4 separate regions of the Homo sapiens genome follow, and all the other regions are linked to region 4. Evidence: promoter capture Hi-C in 16 types of primary human blood cells and fetal thymus (Javierre and others, 2016). All regions are on one chromosome and are shown on one strand. Each heading gives the region's core, a stretch centred on a gene start or on the middle of the fragment in contact. The rest is flanking DNA. Distances are from core to core; before and after follow the strand shown. Region 1 overlaps FAM120A (family with sequence similarity 120 member A). Region 2 overlaps FAM120A (family with sequence similarity 120 member A). Region 3 overlaps FAM120A (family with sequence similarity 120 member A). Region 4 holds the start of CARD19 (caspase recruitment domain family member 19).

Evidence for each region. The method cuts DNA at HindIII sites, captures the fragments that hold promoters and counts their contacts. A CHiCAGO score of 5 or more calls a contact.
Region 1: a fragment that was not itself captured here is called in contact with the fragment with the promoter of CARD19 in region 4 in 2 of 17 cell types (monocytes and naive CD8 T cells); the score reaches 5.5 in monocytes.
Region 2: a contact is called between a fragment that was not itself captured here and the fragment with the promoter of CARD19 in region 4, in 2 of 17 cell types (total CD4 T cells and neutrophils). The highest score is 6.6, in total CD4 T cells.
Region 3: a contact is called between a fragment that was not itself captured here and the fragment with the promoter of CARD19 in region 4, in 1 of 17 cell types (total CD4 T cells). The highest score is 5.1, in total CD4 T cells.

Annotation. Positions count from the first base shown.
Region 1 is chr9:93,517,391-93,520,441 of GRCh38, forward strand. The region is part of intron 7 of FAM120A (family with sequence similarity 120 member A); the gene reads left to right. Among named protein-coding and RNA genes, the nearest start is that of PHF2, 58 kb to the right of the region's middle. The HindIII fragment of the contact is 2,170 bases long and covers 275-2,444 here.
Region 2 is chr9:93,497,453-93,500,552 of GRCh38, forward strand. It overlaps FAM120A (family with sequence similarity 120 member A), which reads left to right. Exons shown (of 18, transcript NM_014612.5): 4 at 19-147; 5 at 1,338-1,434. Among named protein-coding and RNA genes, the nearest start is that of FAM120AOS, 45 kb to the left of the region's middle. The HindIII fragment of the contact is 6,327 bases long and covers 1-3,100 here.
Region 3 is chr9:93,476,523-93,479,642 of GRCh38, forward strand. The region is part of intron 3 of FAM120A (family with sequence similarity 120 member A); the gene reads left to right. Among named protein-coding and RNA genes, the nearest start is that of FAM120AOS, 25 kb to the left of the region's middle. The HindIII fragment of the contact is 641 bases long and covers 1,146-1,786 here.
Region 4 is chr9:93,094,955-93,098,190 of GRCh38, forward strand. CARD19 (caspase recruitment domain family member 19) reads left to right here and starts at 1,263. Exons shown (of 6, transcript NM_032310.5): 1 at 1,263-1,398. The coding sequence starts at 1,392. It overlaps LOC101927993 (a long non-coding RNA gene), which reads right to left and starts at 556. Exons shown (of 4, transcript NR_188444.1): 1 at 414-556; 2 at 1-60. RefSeq lists an enhancer at 251-300 and silencers at 411-720, 741-1,490, 1,511-1,620. The HindIII fragment of the contact is 15,908 bases long and covers 1-2,793 here.

The sequences.
Region 1 (3,051 bases), core at 110-2,609, 420 kb after region 4:
CATTGAATCAGAATCTCTGGTTGGGGCCCCCAAATTTGCATTTTAAATAAGCACCTCAGTCAGTCTTTAGCACACTGAAGTTTGAGAACAACTGCTTGATGGTCTTGGAAGCCCTTATGTGCCAGATTTCTAAGGCATGTGCATTTTGTTGTAAAACGTGACTCATGTCAGCAAGGTCCAAGTGTCTGTACAATACAGTTTTTGTCTTAGTAAGAAATGTTCTTTCTAAACTGTGAAACATAGGTAAGAAGTAAGACAAAAAGCAAAAGAAGTAAGCTTTATGACCCCAACAAGAGTTCCATGCTAGTGATGGAGATGTGGAAACCAGGTCAAGGTGCTGACTTGGGGACGTGGGTGGTGACTGGGGCATGTTTCAGTTGAGGTGCTTGTTCCTCCGGTGGGGAGGGATTGAGAAGAATGTGAGTTGCCCATCTAATTTGGCAAGTTGTCTTTGTTAGGATGAGCTGAACTTGGAGTGAGTAGGACTGCCTGAGCATGTCCTGTCTTTTCTGGGTATGCACTTCCTACCTGTCTGTGAAGGTTCTGGTCAGCTTTTTGGAGCTCTGGGCATCTGACCTCTCCAAGTGCTTATTGTCTTTATTCCTGGTATGGCATCTTTACTGTTTTCTGGAGATGCATCTTGTTTCTGCCACTGGAATTTGACCTGCTCGGGGTCTTGTGTTTTGCCATCCTTGTGGTATGAAGTGCCATGAGGAATGCAGGGTACACCCTATAATAAGGAAGAGACAGACATGTTAGACTTGAGATGAATGAAGGCAGAGGAGACAAGGGTGCTTGTTCCTGAAGGCTTTGGGGTCAGAAACTAGCATTCAACTTGGGGTGAAACCCTTGATCACAGGCATCCTTTGCTTGTGGCAGGTGCAGGGGTATGACGCGTGTGCCAAGTAGAGACAGTGTTCATGATTTTCAGCAAGGGTTCTAGTGTGTTGAATTGGTTGTATCTGCAGTGTATAATGTGCCCCTTAGGCTGTGCATAAGAGAACAAAGAATTGCTTTTATAGTTTAGAAAAAAAGTCACTACTTTTTTACCCTTTGGTTTAGAATTGAATGAGGACCCCGGGACCTACGTTGCCTTTTCAGGATGGCCCTAAGGGAACAGAAATTATTCATTCTCTTAGCAAGAAATACTTGGGCATTTATTTACCAGTGAACAGGGCAGAGGACAGGAGTGATGAGGTCTGTGCGCAGAGCTTGCATTCTGGAGGAGAGTATGTAAGCAGTGAACATAGAAGCCCTGACGAGTGCGTGAAGAAGACATGCCGAGAGTGAGGAGCGGGGAACTGGGAGCACCAGAGCAAAGGAGGGCAGGAAAACTGGGAGAAAGAAGTGAGCCAGCTGATGGCCTGTGGTGTGAGGACCAGCAGGGCTGGGCCGTGCACAGCTGGATGTGTTCTACGTGCCACGGGAAACATCTAGAGCAAACTTGTTCATCCCGTGGCCCACGGGCCGCACGCAGCACAGGATGGAGGCCCAACACAAATTCATAAACTTCCTTAAAACATTGAGATTTTTTTTCTGATTTTTTTTTTAAAGCTCATTAGCTATTGTTAGTCTATTTTATATGGGGCCCAAGACAATTCTTCTTCTTCCAGTGTGGCCCAGGGATGCCAAAAGGTTAGACACTCCTGATCCAGAGTGTGCTTAGCATGACCTTAGGCTGGAGAGACCCTGGTGTTTCTTTGGAGGTGAGTTTACTCACACCTTGATGCCATTTGCCCTCGGGACAGTGGGTCTCCGGACAGTCAGACCATTCAGCTGGTGGAAACAGTTGAACTCCAGAACTCTGGTCTTAAAATATATTGATGGTAGAAATGTTTATATATATGTATGTATTTTTAAATTTTTTTGAGATGGAATTTTACTCTTGTTGGCCAGGCTGGAGTGCAATTGCATGATCTCGGCTAACTGCAACCTCTGCCTCCCAGGTTCAAGCGATTCTCCTGCCCCAGCCTCCTGACTAGCTAGGATTACAGTTGCCTACTACCATGCCCAGCTAATTTTTTGTATTTTTAGTAGAGATGAGGTTTCACCATGTTGGCCAGGCTGTTCTCAAACTCCTGACCTCAGGTGATCCCCCCACCTCGGCCTCCCAAAGTGCTGGGATTACAGGCGTGACCCACCGTGCCTGGCCAGAAACATTTATAATTTCTAGACTGTAAAATAGCGGAGGCGATTGGCCTTCTAGATGCATAGCAAGGTGTGACCCCACCTGCTGCACTCTGCCTTTCATTGTCCAGACCTAACTTCTCCTGTCTTCTGTAGTGTACGTTCAGTGATACCACAAGGAAGGAATAATGTGGGACACCCTGCAAAATAAATGGCCTAGTTTCCCCAACAATGAATCAGTGGCACTCTTTTAAAGGGTGGTAGTGATGGGCGATGGGGATTGTTACATAAAAAAAGAGACAACAAAAAAAGAAAAAAGCTTCCTATGAATTAAAAAGGTAAGTGGTTTTCTAAAATTATTATTATTATTTTTTTAGGGACAGGGTCTTGCTGTTTCACCCAGGCTGGAGTGCAGTGGGACCATCATAACTCACTGTAGCCTCAAACTCCTGGGCTCAGGTGATCCTCACACCTTAGCATGTTCCACCTGAGACGAAAGACATGTTCCACCACACCCAGCTAACCTGTATTATTTGTAGTTATGGGGTACCGCTGTATTGCCCAGGCTGGTTTCAAACTCCTGGCCTCAAGCAATCCTCCTACCTCTGCCGAAAGTGCTGGGATTACAGGCATGAGCCACTGTGTGCAGCTGATGGCAACTGTTTTAAATGGAAAAAGATACAACTGTGCTGGGTATGGTACTGTACACCTGTAGTCCCAGCTACTCGGGAGGCTGAGGTGGGAGGATCACTTGAGCCCAGGAGGTTGAGGCTGCAGTGAGCTATGATCATACCTGTGAATGGCCAATGCGCTCTCTCCTGGGCAATGTAGTGAGATCTCATCTCATCTCTTAAAGGTATAAGCATGGAATTCACAAGGGAAGCAGCCATCAAGAAACATAAAAAGTTGTTCACCGTCACTAAG
Region 2 (3,100 bases), core at 391-2,890, 400 kb after region 4:
TTACGTTTGTTTTCTCAGGTCCGGGCCCACCAGCTGGTCTTGCCACCTTGCGACGTAGTGATCAAAGCCGTTGCTGACTATGTACGCAACATTCAGGACACCTCTGACTTGGATGCCATAGCTAAAGATGTTTTCCAGCATTCACAGGTAAAAAAAAAAACAAACAAAACAAAAAAACAGATTCATGGGATATGACGTTGCATAGTGGTGTGGCCAGGTTTGGAAGAAGGGGACTTGAGGGTGCAAGCTGACTGGATGGGTCTGAGAGCTCTTGCTCAGGCCACTGGAAGAAAGCTGCAGGTTGCAAGGCCAGAGGCTGAGGTAGCCTGGTCATGTTCCCTGCCAGCCAGGAAGTCTCAGCCACTTCACCCAGCTTTTCCAGGCTGAATAAAAGGGAGATTCAGTTAGACGGTTGGTGAGGTCTCCTGCTCATAAGTTCTCGATCTTAACTTAATAGGATCTGTATTTCAGAGTTTTCAGAACATGAACTGTATCAAGTCAGTCATATGGCATTATAAATCTCTGATTTGTCTGTTTTCTTCAGGTGATTGTCAGGGATTTTCTTCTTTTTTGGGGAAGTAGGTGTGCCAACAAGTTGGCATCAGTAGAATAGGCAAGGCTCTGTGAAACTCCTGCTGTGTCTCTAGAGAGCTGAAATGCAGCCAGGCACGGTGGCTCATGCCTGTAATCCCAGTACTCTGGGAGGCCGAGGCGGGCGGATCACGAGGTCAGGAGTTTGAGACTAGCCTGGCCAACATGGTGAAACCCTGTCTCTATTAAAAATACAAAAATTAGCCAGGCGTGGTGGTGGGCGCCTGTAATGCCAGCTACTCGGGATGCTGAGGCAGGAGAATCGCTTGAAACCGTAAGGCAGAGGCTGCAGTGAGCGGAGATCATGCCACCGCACTCCAGCCTGGGTGAAAGAGCGAAACTCCGTCTCAGAAGAAAAAGAGAGAGCTGAAACCCTGGGCAGGAACATCCCCAGTCTGTCACTGCCATCCGTTCCCTTGGTACAGATGGCTTGAGATTCCTCTCTGGGCAGGACCAGAGACCGAGCAGAGTGGAAGTCAGGGAAGTCCTAGAGCTAGAACCCAGGGCCCTGACTACCACTTTGGAGTTCTGCTCTTGTGACTACATTGCTTTAAAAGAATTCACGTTTGGTTTGATTCTTTTGTAGTAATCTATTGATTTTCCCTGAAAGTTTTAATGTCATTCAAAATTCTTCTCTAACTTGAAAAGCTGTAGAATATTATACATGTGCTGAATTATAAAAAACATTGTGATACACATGACCAGTGGCACACTAATTTATGAAGGTTTTCCTGCCTTTATTTCAGTCTAGAACAGATGACAAAGTTATTCGATTTAAGAGAGCAATTGGATATTATTCAGCGACTAGTAAGCCTATGTCATTTCATCCACCACATTACTTAGGTAAGTAAATAAAAGCCTGTGATCAATATTGACCATATGATAATCCAAGTAGGTTTAAATATTCACCATATAATCTTGTAGGTTTATGTTTTTGAAACATGATTTTCTGTAGTTATGCCAGTAAGTATAGCCAAACTTCCTGGGCAGACTCAGTAGCAATCCCTGAAAATATTGAGGAGGAAGAGAACTTAACAGCCTTCATAGGATGAAGAAGAATCAGAGGGCATTGTGCAGATGAGGCAGCAGGTCGAGGGGATGTTGACGTCTTGGCAGCTCTGAGATATCCGCTTCTAAATACAGAATTGCCTGAGGACGTAGAAGGGCCTCCACAACTGCAAGTGATTTCATAAATGCAGTGTATTTGTAGTCTCTCTTTTCTTGACCCCTGCCTTTTTTTTTTTTTAATTCTTTTTTGTTGTTGAGCAGAGTATTGCACTGTCGCCCAGGCTGGAGTGCAGTAGTGTGACCTCGGCTCACTGCAACCTCTACCTCCCAGGCTCAAGTGATTTTTGTGCCCCAGCCTCCTAAGTAGCTGGGATTACAGGCATGCGCCACCATGCCCAGCTAATTTTTGTATTTTTAGTAGAGATGGGGTTTCACCATGTTGGCCAGACTTGTCTCGAACTCCTAGCCTCAAGCGATCTGCCCATCTCAGCCTCCCAAAATGCTGGGATTACAGGCATGAGCCACCACGTTCAGCCTGCAAAAGACCAAAAGTTAATTCAGAGATTTGAAATTGGGAAATAAAAATATTTATAAGCTGTTAGCCTGAAGCCTGCTTCATATTGAACGTCTTGTGGAGGTTATAAAGCACTAAACTGTAAGTAGAAGTATGAGAAATAGACCCCAACTCTCATTTAAATTGTGTTGTTTGCTTCATCTAAGTTAACAAAAGAATGATTGCATGTTCAAGAGACTCTTACTGGAAGGAGACTTTGTATTTATTTGAGAAGACTAATTCCAAGATTGAAAGTGGCCTTAAGAGCTGCACCCTTCATTTATTCAAGCATAGTGTCTGCTGTATGCTAGGAACTGGGCATTGGAGATCAGAGGCATGGCACTGGCTTTGGCTGCCTATGTATGTGGCTGGGTGGTGGACAGGGAAACATGGCCTGTGCCGATGCCCTGTAATAAAGGAGGTAGGGCTTGTAACCTGGAGATGGGCATGGAGTGGCTGAATCTCCACTGCGAGGTCAGTAAATGGCAGCAGCCTCCCAGTGGGGCTCTTTGCTGCTCTCTTGCTCCCCTGCAATCCATTTTCTTCCCAGCAGCCAAAGTAATGTTTAAAAATGGCAGTTGGACTGTGCTACTCCCATGCTCAGAATTCCCCATTGGCTTCCCGTCACACTTGGAATAAATTCCCAACTACTTACCTTGCTTCCTCCCCATCATCTGAGACTGCTGGCTTCTCACTCCTGAGCGCAGCCTCCTTTCTTGCCTTGCATGAACCAAGCTAGCTTCTGCCCTGGGCCTCTGGGCCGGCTTTTGTGCCTGGAGGGCTCCTTTCTCTGACCAGCTTGTGTTTGTGCCCTTCTGATTTGTGAGATCCAGGCTGTCGTGTTCTCCAAGGTCTGCCTGGCTTTAAATCTCTGCACACTCCTTGGCTTCTATTTGTCACCACCACCACCCCTTCCCCCGTCACTCCCCACAATGTAAAGTCTAGGGT
Region 3 (3,120 bases), core at 216-2,715, 380 kb after region 4:
ACACCTATATGTTAGGTAAATGTATAAATGTCCTTGAAAATTTCCCTTAAGGAATTCTTTGTGCTGTGTACCTAGATAGAAGGAAATCTTTGAGCTGATGTTTTATATATTAATTTTCTTACTTAAAAATTTTAATTTTGTCTTTAGGTAGTATAGTTACTTGTCACTTAGAGCAACATCTTTGCATAGTTGATAAATTTCATAACTAATTTTCTACAATTATAAAATAGTTTATAAAGCTTTTTGGATGATGAGGGAGACTCAAATGGAAGTGATCCATTTGTACTATTTTATTAAAACTTAATATTCTTTTTCTCCCTTTTGATTCCCTTCCTGTTTGTGATAGTAATAAACATCAGAGATGAGGCACTTAATTCTGATTTTCTGCAGTGGAAGTGTCTGTGTTTGATGTGAGCATAGGAGTAATGAGTGAGATATGCACGAGGCACTGGAAAACTTCAGCTTGGACTTGTTAGTGACTCCTGTGATTGTAATGATCATTTGTCAGTTCAAGTGCCTTTCTTGACTTGGGGAATTAGGAAGATGGGGACCTAGACTTTGTATCTGCTTCCCACCCTGGGACTGCTTCCTTACAGTAAAGAGTGGCGGTTAAATTGGGTGTTTTCCGAAGGGCTGTAAAATTTTGAATGTTGTCGTAATTACCCTCCCTCCATAAACAATTTTAATTGGTGGCTAGTTTCAAATGGGAGTTTTTCTTCCTACATTTTAATTTACCTTTAACTCTGGTGATACCCAAAAGCTGAAGTAGAATTCCTTTCCTCCTTTCATTTTGTTCCCTGCTGTTTCATCTCTGGCATGCTTTTTCTTTTTCATCTCTGGCATGCTATAAAATGTTCTCCTTTTCACCCTAATGGGGTTTGGTATGGACTGTTTTCAACTTCTTGTTCAAAAATTAGTTTTTCTTCTCTTGTTAGAAATTACATTTCTGGCCATAGAATCCCTCCTGTATGTTTTCATGAATGAAGTGATGTGATCTGTCATTCGGACTCTAAGCTTCTGGTGATGCCATGATTGAAATGTGGATTGGGGAAATGCAGCGTGTAATCAGCTGGACTTAAGAGCACTGCACCTGTGCTCAGTAGCTCTGTTAAGCATTATGCTTTTGTAAGTGAGACACAAATGAAAGCTTGTTTCCTACAAGATTTATTTTGTTTTGAAGAGCAGGAGTGAGATACTCCCAAGGTTTCTGGCTATATGTGTATGTCTAAGTTAAACTAGCCCTGCTTCATATGTCACAGGGTTAGAAGTGAAGAGCTGTTTGAAGAATTATTGGAAAACCAGCTCAATCTATTGCCAAGTGAATAACATCATTATATGTGTGTTTTTCCTAAATTTTGTTGAGAAAATCTTTAAGTATTGAAATGTGGAAAGAATAGAGAAATGTGTATCCGTATATCCCCCATCTTGGTTCAACAATTATAAACATTTTGCCATAAAGTATATGTCTGTGTTTTGTTTTGTTTAACAAAAACTATTTGGAAGTAAGTTGCAGATATGACACTTTACCCATGAAAATGTCAGCTTGCTCCACCACTTCAGCTTGCTCCATCACTTCCTAAAAATAAGGACATTTTGATACTTTATCATATTACTCCTATGACATCAACTAAATTAATAATTCTTTAATATCTTTTTTTTTGAGACAGGGTCTTGCTCTGTCACCTGTGCTGGAGTGCAGTGTCTAATATCATTTAATATTAAGCCCATATTCAAATTTTTTCAGAGTCATTTATAGGTTTTTTTTTTTTTGATCGAGATCCAGTCAAGCTTTATGCATGCATTTTGATATTAGCTGAGTACTTTTATGGCATATTGGAGAAGAAATCCTAAATTATTTTTCAGATGACTTGATACGTTGTAGGATTTTAAAGTCACACATGAAATGCAAGTGCACCTGGTTTTGAGATAAGTTCAGAAATTGCATTTGTTAGCCACTTTAATGTTTTTATTTGAGACAGAGTCTTGCTCTGTCACCCAGGATGGAGTACAGGGGTGAGATCTCGGCTCACTGCAACCTCTGCCTCCAGGGTTCAAGTGATTCTCCTGCCTCAGCCTTCCAAGTAGCTGGGATTACAGGCGCCTGCCACCACGCCAGCTAATTTTTGTGTTTTTAGTAGAGGCAGGGTTTCACCATGTTGTCCATATTCGTCTCGAACACCTGACCTCAGGTGATCCACCCACCTTGGCCTCCCAAAGTGCTGGGATTATAGGTGTGAGCCACAGCACCCGGCTCACTTTAATGTTTTGACCCTTCATTCACATTTTTGTATGCAGCACCATTTCAGTGATTTTAATATACATAGGGGAAATTGGATGTGGTTTTACTCCCCATGAGCATGACTGATGGATGTGCTACAGAATTGTATGTATCCCACCTGCTATTTTAGTCTCTTTGTTTTTCCCCAGTTGTAAAACCAATTGCATCTTTTGAAAATTTGGATAGTTGTTACATATCTTCCATAATATTCTGAGTTTTATTTTCTGAAATATTCTTTGTGTTTTTGTATTATGTTGAAATGATGAGAGGTTTAAGATTAGGGTATTGCATTTTTTTTTTTTTTTTTTTTTTTTTTGAGACGGAGTCTCGCTCTGTCGCCCAGGCTGGAGTGCAGTGGCGGGATCTCGGCTCACTGCAAGCTCCGCCTCCCGGTTTCATGCCATTCTCCTGCCTCAGCCTCCCAAGTAGCTGGGACTACAGGCGCCCGCCACTACGCCCGGCTAATTTTTTGTATTTTTAGTAGAGACGGGGTTTCACCGTTTTAGCTGGGATGGTCTCGATCTCCTGACCTCGTGATCCGCCCGCCTCGGCCTCCCAAAGTAGGGTATTGCATTTTAAGAGGTGCTTTGAATTGATTAGATATTAACTTCATAGAACACCAGCCCTCTGTGAACAATAATAAATTTGGCTTTGGCAAAATAGTACAAATATAATATGATAAAAGGGATGGACCAAGGAGGCTTAAGCTTGAGGATGCAAAGTCACGTGTCCTTAACAGCTATTTTTCCAGTATACTCTGTTAGAAAGGGAACCAATAAAAATCATGAGAAAATTTCATCTTTTTACCATCTGATGAAAATCACAAAATACCATGGATAGGA
Region 4 (3,236 bases), core at 13-2,512:
TTCACATCATGTGGGGCTAGGAGCTTCTTGTGGCGGGCTCCGGAGCTGGAAATGCCAGGCCTACGAGAGGGAAAGCAGGAAGGAAAGCGGGAGGGAAGTGGAGTTGGCCCAAGGTCACTCATTTTACAGTCCAGGAAACTGAGGCTCAGGCAGGTTAAGTGACCTCTCTAGTTCGGGTCACACTGTCAAGCTAGTGTCTTCTTTTGAAGGTGGGGGACTGGGGTCCCCCAAGAAGGTGTCCCCCCCCCACCCCGCCGAGCGAGGTCACACCGTTGAGTCCTTCTCCCCTGGATTTGGGAAAGCATCACTGGGCACTGCCTCCTTTGGCTGGTCCCTGTGGCGTACTGGACGCCCACCGGCCTTTTGCCCCAGGCCTGGCCCTGTACTCCCCAGGGCCTGACTTTCTGTATGACGTTGGATCAGTCACGTCCCCTCTCAGTTTCAGTTTTCTCATCCAAGGGGTGGGGCGCGAGGCCGGGAGCGGGGAGGTGGACTGAGCCGGCCGGCGGGCCACCTGGATCCCGACTCCGCCACTCAACGCGGCAGGGCCCGGAAGGGCGGGCCCAAGACGGGCAGGGCTCCGGGCAGGAGCGGGCGCCTCCAGGGAGGCGCGCGGCGGTCGTAGCTGAGGCCGCCTTGAGGGCGGGACTTGGACGCGGGCAGGGCTCGAGTGAGAGGCGGGGTTAAAGGCCGCTGCGACGGCGTTATAGACGCCGGCGGGACCGGGGCCCAGCGAGGGGAGGGACTCTGGGCCCCTCGCGGCGTCTTAACTGACGCTGGGAGGGGCGGGAGTCCGGTGGCGCCCGCCCACGCCCGCAGTCGCCCGCCCACGCCCGCAGTCGCATGGCAGAGCAGGAAGGGGCGGGGCTCAGGGCCCCTGGAGGCGCGGAGGCCGACGACGGAGGGGGGCGGGGCTCGAGTAAGGGGCGGGGCCCGGTGGGGGGTTCCTTGAGGCTCGGAAGCCGTCGTCGGAGGGGGCGGGGTTCAGGTGCAGGGCGGGGCTCAGAACTCCGGGAGAGGCGGAAGCCGACGCCGGAGGGGGCGGGGCTCGAGTGAGGGGCAAGGCTCCAGGATCCTCGCAGCGGCCTATCCCAGGACGGCAAGGGGGCGGGACTCGAGTGAGAGGGGCGGAGTTTAGAGCCCTGGGGGAGCCGTAGCGGGCGCGGAAGGGGCGGGGCCTAACGGTAGGGGGCGGGGCTCGTCAAAGGGCGGGGTTTAGAGTCCCCGAGGCTACACAGCCAAAGCCGGGGGGCTGGCCTAGCCAAAAGGGGCGGGCGAGCACGGCCCGCGGGCGGCGTTCGCTGGAGCTGGTGGACCGGGCGGCTGACCGAGGGGCGGACGCGCGGCGGGGCAGACCGCTGGGGACTGCGGGCGGCGCTGTGTCCGTCGCCATGACAGGTGGGCACGGGGTCGGCTGGGCGGCAGGGATGCGGGCGCCCTGGATGGGTGGCCCGGCCCGGGGGTCCGGCTGCCTTGCGAGTCGCCTGCAGGCCGCGCCTGGGCAGCGGGGGCCGAGTGACCTTGGCCCGTCAGCTGTCGGTGGTGCGCGAGTGCACCCCCGCGAAGTGGTGGGTGTCCCGGGGCTTCTACCCGGCGGGGCCGTGCCAGCCGAGGCGGTGCCGGGCATGATGGGTGGTGGCCAGGTGCGGGGCCCGAAGAGGGCGGGGGCTACAAGGCAGCTCCAGGGTGGGGCTGCACAGCCGCGGTCTGGGCTCAGCCACTGCCAATGTGTGTGTGTCCCGTGGTGGGGAATTTGGTCTGAAAGAGTAGGAGGTGGTAGAAATGACACCGGAGAGAATTCACAGCGGTCCTGCTGTGATTCTGGCCACGGAAACAACGCTCCATCCTTACAACCACCCCAGCGAGGTCGCGGGACAGGCGATGCGTTCCTCGGCGGCATGTGATTCCTGTGGGACTCTTGGAGTCTCCCAGACTCCTTCGGTGGTCCACGACGCTCTTGCCCCTGTTTAGTTCTAAGAGAATCGGGGACAGCGACTGGACCCCCCAAGGTTGTTGTGCTCCACGCTAGTGGCCCCAGCCCAGCCTTCCTCCCCAGGGCCTCTCTGGTCTGGGGACCTGCCCACCATCCTCCTGATCCCAAACAGGGTGACTCTGCCCTGTGGACCTTCCCCTGTTGGAGAAGCCCCATGAGGGTGATGGGCTGGTAAGGGACCCCATGGCAGCCCGGCCAGGGAGTATGGGGGTTCCCAGAAGCTACACTTCATTCTTACTGTTCTGTTTCATGGAGCAGAATTGGCTCAGGGGCTCAGGGTAGCCCCAGAAGTCCCTAGTCCTCTCTCGGTGCTCGCTCTCTTGAGTCTCAGCCTAGGTCCTGCCCACAAATAGGATCTCATGGGCTGGAAACTGATGACTTCCAGGACACCAGGCCAGAAGAGACTTCCAGCCTAGGCCACAAGAGACCCCAGCTGCCACCTGCTCCCCTTTGTCCTCCCTTCTAACTCTTCTTATTTGTGGCTCTCATTTCTGAGCACTTACTGTGCATTGGACCCTGTGTTGGGTGATTCCTGTTTGAAAATGATCAGATGGGGACACCTGGAATATCTCGTCTGTGTACAGATGGGGAAACAAAGTCTTAAATTGTGCCCTGCCCAGGCTGGGATTCCGTAATTCCCTTAGTGAGTTCATCAGAATGCGTGGGACACAACTCAGAGCTGTGTTGGTCTCCAGGGAGCCCTGTCCCAGGGACTGGGTGTTGGCAGAGCCTGAGGCCTTGCTGTCCATTAAGGAGCCTTCCTGCACAAAGGGACTTTGTCCCTTTCTGCCTGTCAGGGAAGCTTCCTTGCATAAGGGGACCCTGGAGCTGGGAAACCACATCAGGCAGGGGTCCCTGAAGGCTCTGACTATAGGCCTCACCTTGTCCAGTGTATGCTTCCTACCTGCTATGTCTACTCACTGGGCCTGGAGACATTCCCTCACAACCCTTAGTTTTTGGGATGGGGAACCAAGGCCCATGGAGCACAGCTCTGGGAGGGTCATATGGACAGCCCTGCGAGGCTGCAGACCCATAGTCCCAGGCTCACTGCCTCCATGCACCAACTGGGGTCCTGCCTTGCGCCAGCCCTCGCTGTGAGCAGCGCATGTGAGCCAGTGCCTGCAGAACGCTGAGGAGGTGTCTGCGTGGGGCAGGTGCTTGACAAGTTACCCCCTGGGCTGTGCCGGGGAGTGAGCAGTTTTAGTTGGGCTGAGCACTGAGAGAAGGGGTTTCCTGGAAGAAA